Regions from separate parts of the Homo sapiens genome. Here region 2 is linked to region 1. The links are contacts of gene promoters, found by promoter capture Hi-C in blood cells and fetal thymus (Javierre and others, 2016). All regions are on one chromosome and are shown on one strand. The core of a region is centred on a gene start or on the middle of the fragment in contact, and the rest is flanking DNA. Distances in the headings are between cores, read along the strand shown.

Region 1 (4,657 bases), core at 1,063-3,562:
ATGAAAAAGTGAATGAATGAGTGCATAAAGGGCAGGAGCAGCTGCCAATGAAAGAGCTCAAATAAGAGCTGTGGCTAGAATCATGTGTCCTCCTTCTCTGAGCCCAACATTTTATAATTTTGTGATTCCAAGACCAATATTTCCGTGTTTCCTGCAAGCTGCAGATTTTGCAACTGGAAATTCAAACAGTGAAGGATAGCTGGATCTAAATATAGTCTTTTAAGTATGTTGAGGCATAATTAAGAAAATGTTGCAGGAACAAATAATTAAGCATATTGGGCAATTTTTTTGAGGCAATTAAAACACTCAAATTTCAAAACAGCTTGCTGGAATCCAGCCTGCCCTCCAATTGACACTGATCTGACTCATACAACGCCTCAGTCCTCTACTTCCCATGTGAAGCTGATGCACTTGTGATTTTGTCCTAATCATTTTCGTAGAAGTCTAGTTAGTGATTAGGTGAAGGCTCACCACACCACAACACACTGTACATGGCTCTCCATGAGTTCCTCTGCTGTTTCCAAAATAAATTTCAATCATATAACATCTAGGCCTGCAATTGCAATTGCTGTTTTTTTTTTCTCTTTTGAATCAATAACCTATTCCCTCGATTAAAGACACACAAAACTTGAAAAACTAAACACACACAAAAACTCGAAAAAGAACATTCTCTAACGCAAACTCCTGTCTTTTGCAGATAGCAGCAGAGATTTTCTGCTTTGGGCTGTGACTCATGTACCTTTATTCCCACAATTGTTACTCAGGGCAGGCCAATGGTGAGCACAATGGGAAAAGAAAGAATAGGTTATAACTGGAAAATAAGCACATTCGGGCGAAGTACACTCAAAGCATTATCAAAGTAAAATATGCAGCAGCACCAACAAGAGCAAACAAAAGCCCACGCAGGAGATGTGTAAATATTTCATGAAGCAAAGCCTTAATCAACCCTCTCTCCCAAATCTTGCTGGTGTTGTAAACACTTCAGTTTCTTCTAGTCCCACCATGACCCAGATACCTTGCAAAAACAAAATAAAAACATAGTCCAATGGATCTTTAAACAAATGTGTTGTGAAAATATTTAGATGGAGCATACCCAAGTACCGCTTTAACCAAGAGGAAGAAGACACCTTACTCAAAGGTGGGTGCTTCTTGAGTGACTGCTCAGAGCTCTGTTTCTCCCCTCCCCCTCCAAGCCCTTGCCTTTTGCCCACCTCCTCGGCTGCTTTGTGGACATTCACATCGTCTTAACCTTGAACTGCCTACACCCCAAGCGGTGATTTCTCCCAATGGCCCTCCAGAAAGCCCTTGAAACCTGGTCTGGATTCGATGCCTTCCCATCACCCAAAATTCACTTCCCAGTGGCATATTAAGTACCTCTCCTTTTTTCCCTCTTTCACTGTCCATTATTGCGTCTGAAATGATGCCTACATCGTTTCCATCTGCCTGGAGAGCATGAAGATCTTCTGTGTGTGTTGGCTGACAGGCTCCTTCAGACCTCTTCTAAAGCCCATCTTGAAAGAACCGTTTATCACCTCTAGTCTCTACCCTGATTTAATGTGGTTCCAAAGTTCGCCTCTATTAGTGAACATGTCTCTACAACGATTTCCCTTTATCAACCCCTGCCCGCCCTTCCTCTTCTTTCTGCCTACCTCAAGAAAACCTATTTACATATGCATTTATGTATGTGTGTGTATATACACACACATACATACATCCATATGTAATATATATTTCTATGTTTTGACCTTAAAGGGGATAAGCATAGGAAAATGAGACAAATGTCACACACACACACACACACACACACACACCCCTCATATTCGGATATTCGCAGTGTGCAGACCCGATTGATTATAAATTTCCCTGCCCACGATCAGCAGGCGTCTTCTCCCATTTACCTTCAAAGCCAGAGCCAAAGAGAGCAATGACCTTGCAGAGAAATTCATCACCTGCGAGAAAGACTGCCCCTCCTAGAGCGCAGGATGGGACAGAGACAAGAGCAACAGGCAAAGGATCCCTGTGCAAAATGTGGGACCGAATCCCTTCCGCATCCCTACAGAGCACACCACCAGGCTCCGGTCCCCCGCGCTGGCCGCCAGGCGGAGGTGCGCAGGGGGCGTCTCCTACCTGCTCTGCCCGGCTCCGCGGCGCGGCGGGGCCACTGCCTGCGCTGTGGCGGGGGCTTCCCGTCGCATATCCCAAGCACCGTCTCTCGGCGCCACACCGATGGCTCCGGCGGGCCCGCGAGCTGAGGTCCTTCTCAGCCCGGTCCCGGAGCGAGCTCCGTGCGTTCAGGAACTGAAATTACTATGCCAAGAGCAGAGGCGGCGCGCAGCAGTCGGGCGTAGACCGAGGGGGCTGCCCCCACCGCGGGGCTGCAGACGCCGCCGCCGCCCCCGCCGGGCGCAGAGCCAGTTTGGAGGTGAGAGTTCACTTGCCCGACTGTTCATCCGTCAGGCCCGGGGTGTACCCATCTGTCCAGCGCTGCCCAGCCTGAGCATCCGAGAGAGGGGCGACAGCTTTGCAGGCGGCGGCGGCGGCAGCAGCAGCGGCGGCAGCAGGAGGCCGAGCTCCGCCCCCTCCAAACCCCCTCCCCCGCCTTCCCGGTCCTGGGGGAAAGTGTTGCAGCCCAGGCTGCTGAGCGCCGGGCCGGGAGCTAGGAGGGGTCTGGTGGGTTGTGGTTCTGCACCCCTGGAGACCAGAGACAGATGGAAAGTTAAGAAGGGATTAAGGAAGAGGGCTGGGGACCCAGAGCGATTTAGCAGGCATTCTGGCCCTTGCTCCCTCCCACAGGTCACCAGACTCCATGGCTGAGTCTAGACTCTAGCAGAAGGTTTCCAATAAAGCCACGTGCAGTGGAGATCTGAAAGCAAGATCATCCGATAAGTAATATGTTTTGCAAAATGTACAGTATCCTGCGTATTCGGAGAGGCACTGCTGACAGTGTTCCTGTCCCCATCCCCTTCCCGCTACCCCATGGGCTTGGAGGGCTTTGAGGGCTTTGGAAATCTTCCCTGTTGAGCAGCTCCAGAATCCTGAATGGATGTGTAGTATGGTTAGCAGCTGTAGATGGTGCAAAATGATACGATGAAAAGAGCTTCATTATTAACTGGGTATTTGTTGGAAGGCTCTGTGAAAAATGCCTTACATACAGCCTCAGCCTCTTTAATTCTTACTACAACCCATTGAGGTGCCTTACCATGTGGACGAGGAAACAGGCTTATATGATCTAAACACTTTGCTTGAGGTCACACAGTAGTAACCTGCTCAGCTGGGATTCAAACCAATCCAAAATATATCCTCTCATCTAGTACACAGGACTCACCTAGGGGGTCTTGTTAAAATGCTGATTGTGATCCAATAGGTCTGGGGTAGGGACTGAGGAAACGCTTTTTTAGTTTTTTGTTGTTGTTGTTTTTTGTTTTTTGCTTCGTCTCCTAGGCTGGAGTGCAGTGGCGCGCTCTCGGCTCACTGCAAGCTCCGCTTCCCGGGGTCAAGCGATTCTCCTGCCTCAGCCTCCCAAGTAGCTGGGATTACAGGCGCCCACCACCACGCCCGGCTAATTTTTGTATTTTTAGTAGAGACAGGGTTTCTCCACGTTGGCCAGGCTGGTCTGGAACACCTGACCTCAGGTGATCCGCCCGCCTCGGCCTCCCAAAGTGCTGGAATTACAGGCGTGAGCCATGCCTGGCCCAGGATAGGCATTTCTAACAAGCTCCCAGGTAATGCCCATGCTACTGGCCAAAAGATCAAACTTTGCGGCACTATTCACAATAGCAAAGACTTGCAACCAACCCAAATGTCCGTCAATGATAGACTGGATTAGGAAAATGTGGCACATGTATACCATGGAATACTATGCAGCCACAAAAAAGGATGAGTTCATGTCCTTTGTAGGGACATGGATGAAGCTGGAAACCATCATTCTTAGCAAACTATCACAAGAACAAAAAAACAAACACCGCATGTTCTCACTCATAGATGGGAATTGAACAATGAGAACACATGGACATAGGAAGGGGAACATCACACACCGGGGCCTGTTGTGGGGTTGGGGGAGGGGGGAGAGATAGTATTAGCAGATATACCTAATGTAAATGAGAAGTTAATGAGTGCAGCACACCAACATGGCACATGTATACATATGTAACAAACCTGCACGTTGTGCACATGTACTCTAGAACTTAAAGTATTAAAAAAAAAAAAAAAAGATCAAACTTTCTAAGCCCCTAGATCAGGGATTTTAAATAAGTTTCTTCTTTTATGCCAGGTGTAGTTAATTGATAGCTGCTTCCTGAAGGTGGGTTAAGAAGGATTCTCTGGCTCTGTCTGGGTTCTCCGGCTAGCCATGTTCATTTTGGTTGAAGACGAAGGGAGCTGGGTCATCTTCCCTACACTAGGCCGCTTCTAAAAGGACATCTTTATGACAGGAGTGGTTGTGGCATAATATTTATGTCATCATAGTATTCATATCATAAATATGCTAAGCACAGATGTCTTTATTCCAGTTCTCCCTCTCATTAAGCAAACTAAGCCAAAGTTTTAGGCCTAACATTTGTATAGGATGAAACACTTTGCAAAGTGTTCATGTGAATAATTTTATTTGTCTTTATACAACACAGTAAGGCAGATATAATTTCACTCTACAGGAAAGGAA
Region 2 (4,657 bases), core at 1,003-3,502, 490 kb before region 1:
AAATAGTGCATTAAAAATGTTTAATACAGAACATACTATTCCATTGGGAATCCATTCTGCACCACAGACAAATGTAAGTTTCATAGGAAAAAATAGGGTGAAAGCTTTGAGAGTTTCAAGAAATTTGGTTCAATTCTATTTTCAACAGTACTTCCTGCAAACCATTCCAGAGGTCATCTTCCAATATTGATGCGATGAAATGCACTGCAATGATATAGCACTACCTGAACTGTGCTAAGCACTTTTGCATTGATGGAATTGAAACTGTATTGCAAGCATAAGAAGACAAAACTAAAAGAAAAGCAACATACCCTTTACATCTGAGTAGTTTCATCATTTACAAAACAAACAAAACAAAACCCACAAAACCAAAACTATCACTTTTTCTTTTTCTTGAGACAGAGTCTTCCACTGTCGCACAGACTGGAGTGCAGTGGCATGAACTCAGCTCACTGCAACCTCTAACTCCAGGGTTCAGGTGATTCTTGTGCCTCAGCCTCCCAAGTAGCTGGGATTACAGGAGCATGCCAGCACGCCCAGATAATTTTTTTTTTTGTTTTTCTTTTTGTATTTTTAGTAGAGACGGATTTCACCATGTTGGCCAGGCTGGTCTCAAACTCCTGACCTCCAGTGATCCCCCCCGGACTTGGCCTTCCAGAGTGCTGGGATTACAGACATGAACCACTGTGCCTAGTCCTATCACATTCTTTAACTCCAAAATCTCCCTCATAAAATAAGTACCTTGGGTGGTATCATCTCTTACAGACAATGAAAATGACCTGCTCAAATTCATATATGGCCAGCTAGCTGTCAGTGTCTATATATGTTTTCTGATGGCAAGTTTACCACTGGTTTGTACTGAATAGTTAACATCTTTACTTTTTCAGTGGTTTAGACAGGATGATCCTAAAATTTGAAAATATCCTCACCTTAGTTCATGTTATCTTCTTTATTTGGAGTAATTAGCAAATATTTGGGCTCCATGGGTAATTAAACCATCATGTGAGAACAGAGCCCACAGAGATCTTATTTGTTCTCACTGACAGTGATAAAGCATAAATTCAGACACACAACCCATAGGCACTGGCCCAGATTTAAAGTGAGGCAGCTTTTAACTCCCTCCCAGACTGTGTTTGTGGAGGGAGAGGGCAGTGCCAGGAGTGCTACCAGAGTGCCAACAAGTTAGGAAAAACAGAGACTTCTAGATAAATTAACTGAAAGGTGTCATCTCCACGAGCAGCAGAGGGCTCTCTAACACCACACAGAAACTCACAAGCTGGCCCAACATTACCTGGGTTCTTCCCTGGTGAACTCCCATACCATCCCCATGTTATCAACGTTTACGTTGGCAAAAGGATATTCTAAAGAGCGATGCTTAGGAAGAACTGATGAATTCTACTGATAAGAAGCTTCAGTGAAACTTTTAGATATTGGGTCACTAATACATGTTTATTAATCGTCTTTAAGTCTTTTTTGAAGAAGAGCCACTGCAATTTGGAATTATGATGTGCTTCACCATCATAAAACAAATATTCAATAATATACACTGGATATCATTATTTGCTACATGAAAAAAATAATTACATAGACATGATTGATTTCAGCTTCTCACTTTGGTAGACAAACCCAGGAAAGAACAGGATGCCAACACATGAAAGCAGATGTCAATGCACTGAAATCAAAGGAATCCACATCAATCATCAGCACTCACAGGTTCATAACTTCATCTCATCTGCCATCATTATTCCTTGTGGATATAAATTCAGTTAGTTTACTGGAAAGTTAGTCTAGCAAATTAAAATACTGCAATGAAAGTTGAGAGTTTTGTCATAGCTATGACTCAGAGTTAAAATTTTGTATCTTAGCCTGCTTGAGTCTTTCTATACATAAAATAGAGATCCTTACCTACATCCCCACAATACCTAAGGGGAAGAAAACTCAATGAAATATGAATTGTACAAAGAGCCTGTGGTACAAACTAGGCCTGAGATCTGACAAAACAGATTATCTCATTAGTGACAGAAGGTAAATTTAGTCACCTGAGAAAACTTATATTTCAATTCTTAGTTTAATATAGTTTCTCCCTCCCTTTATTTCTGATATTATTTTATTTTTCTCAAGGAACTTTTTCCGATGCTAAGAATATCCATATAAGTTGATACACTATGTTGAGTTTCATTATTAGCTATAAGTAGTATGTAAATATTTTAGTATTTTAAAAAATAACTGGGACTGTTTAATTATCTCAATAGAGATAGTTAATAAGATCCTGTCTTTAAGCCATGTAGTGAATCATTAAGAACTGAGGACTTTACAGAAGGTTGTAATTTAAACATTCAGCCTCTGCCATGTTTTTTCTAAAGATCATGAGTTTCTAAACAGCCAACTCCATCCTGGAAACTCTGCCAATAACATTCAGTAATAAACAGATAGCAAGACACATTTTATTTCATTTTTAGTTTTTGACCTTATCTGTCATTCTCATCTTGGCTACAGATTAGCAGTAACAACGTATCTTCTATACACTCTCACAATACGCTAAGAAAGGCTAAAGAGGCATTTATGAAAACTGTAAGTTAAGTAGACATTAGGGTACAAACATGCCCCTAATAAAATCACACACTTACACGGGGTTAAATAATACACAGGATAATATTATCCATCTAGGCACATCTCTATTATTACTATGCTAATCATACTGTGTATTACTGAATTCACCACATGGTACTGTAATTGTCTGGTAATGTGTCTGCATCCTAACTAGCATGTGACCTCTTTGAAGGAGAGCTGTGTCTTAATTACCTTAGGATAACTGGCAGTACAGAGTAGTGTTCAGTCAAAGAGAAAATATTAAACAACACTCTAAGTATGTTTTGTTTTAATAGGTAAAACTGACAATTTAGGAAATGAAAGCATCAATTATGAAAAAATCCTCACATAAGGTCAGATATTAAATATGCTATTTGGAGATGTTGAGTAGTATAATGCTAGATTCCTATATATGCCAGCTGTCACTAGCTTTATAAGCGCTATAATCATTAACTAGAATTTAGATCAGTGTTTCTCTACGAGTGGACCATCTGCATTAGATTTAGGAAGCTTGTTAAAATGCAGATGCTCTCTCTGCTACCTCCAGATTTGGATGCAGTGAGTCTAGGGAAGGAGGGCAACAGGAAGGATTTGATTTGAAAAATAAGTTCCTTAGGTAATTCTCATGCACTCAAAGTATGAGAAGCATTGAACTCTCTGCTAAATACAAACAGTGAGCATGAATTTCTTTAGCTGCTATTTAAAGCTATTCTTTTACACATCCAATTTCAATGTAGTTTCTATCCCTTGGTGCTCTTAAACAGAATGGAACAAAGCACTCCTTCCAAGAATACTGCTAAGGCTCTGGAACCTTCCTGCTTCAGGCCCATAACGGTGGGGAGAGTCCGCAATAGTCATCATTACCACGAGAGTCACAGAAATCAATAGCCAAAGATACCAAACTGGGATTTGAAGAAACAATTACACGTAAGGGCGGGAAAGTTTTCTACACAAATGCTTAAATTCACAAGGCACGCTTAACAAAGACAACCGCACAAACCTGGTCTTTACCTTCAGGAGGTTTATAACCAAAGGTAGGTACAGGCTGGCAGTAAAGATTGCAGGGAAATCAGTCAAATTAAACTCTAAGAGCTGGGTAAACATTGCGGCAGTGAATGCACGTAACAGCGCTCTTCAGAATGGTAATGCAAAGAAACAAAAGTAGCAACTCAACATTCTTGAATGCAAATTCAAATTATTCCTGCATTTATTCCTACTAGGTTCATTAATCATGACTAAAAATACAAAATAATTTACAGGAAATAATGATGGTTTTATTTTAGCTTTAATCGTTTTGATTGCCTAAACAATGTTTTAACAGTATAAAGATCTATTTTCTTCTTAACAATTATTAGAGCATCACATGGCTGGCTATTAGAGTTCAGTAGTAGCCAATATTCTTATCTAGAATACAATTCGCTTAAAACCCTTAAGAACTGATGTCATTATAAGGGGAAAAATGTCTCCAACTTTAAAGTTGGAAACCAAATCAAGACTCCACAAAGTGTTTTAGTCTCTCACAAGCTTTAAGCATGTGGACATTTTCACTGAGTTCACGTAGAAAAATTTTAGATATATTTGTAAACCACTTTCTGCTCCCTTGGATTCTTAATTTTTACAAAAGGAACTCTTTGGACACCCCCATCAGGTTCCCATGACAGTGTCCTTGTTAGTACAGTGAAGGAAAAATGACTATACTGTTTTATCTCACTGTAAGTATCTGTAGAAACCATTTTGCAAATAAGCAATGTTTTAAAGCTTATTTTTCATTGCTAAAACAAAAACATTCACTGAAATATTTGTGGCATGGTTTTTAAAAATGAAATTAGTTTTTGTCTAGTTTTTTTTATCCTTAAATAAACCACATTTACTATTTGATTTAAAATTTTTTTTTTACTAATAAAACCTTCTATAGTTTTCCTAAATGAAACATTTCTATGGAATGAAATGCCACTGCATGTAAAGCAGTTGAAGTTGAAATAGGACAATATGATTAGCAAAGGTAATGTTTAAAATCCTAAAATGTGACCTTGGGCAGCCCTGAGGCCCTCTCCATGCCTACATTCTT

Evidence for each region. Contacts are between HindIII fragments. The CHiCAGO score rates a contact against its expected background, and 5 or more counts as called.
Region 2: a fragment that was not itself captured here is called in contact with the fragment with the promoter of GPRIN3 in region 1 in 1 of 17 cell types (total CD4 T cells); the score reaches 6.0 in total CD4 T cells.

The regions. Positions count from the first base shown.
Region 1 is chr4:89,305,488-89,310,144 of GRCh38, forward strand. It overlaps GPRIN3 (GPRIN family member 3), which reads right to left and starts at 2,313. Exons shown (of 2, transcript NM_198281.3): 1 at 2,128-2,313. RefSeq lists silencers at 2,263-2,312, 2,323-2,392. The HindIII fragment of the contact is 16,857 bases long and covers 1-4,657 here.
Region 2 is chr4:88,817,607-88,822,263 of GRCh38, forward strand. The region is part of intron 7 of FAM13A (family with sequence similarity 13 member A); the gene reads right to left. Among named protein-coding and RNA genes, the nearest start is that of FAM13A-AS1, 110 kb to the left of the region's middle. The HindIII fragment of the contact is 1,690 bases long and covers 1,408-3,097 here.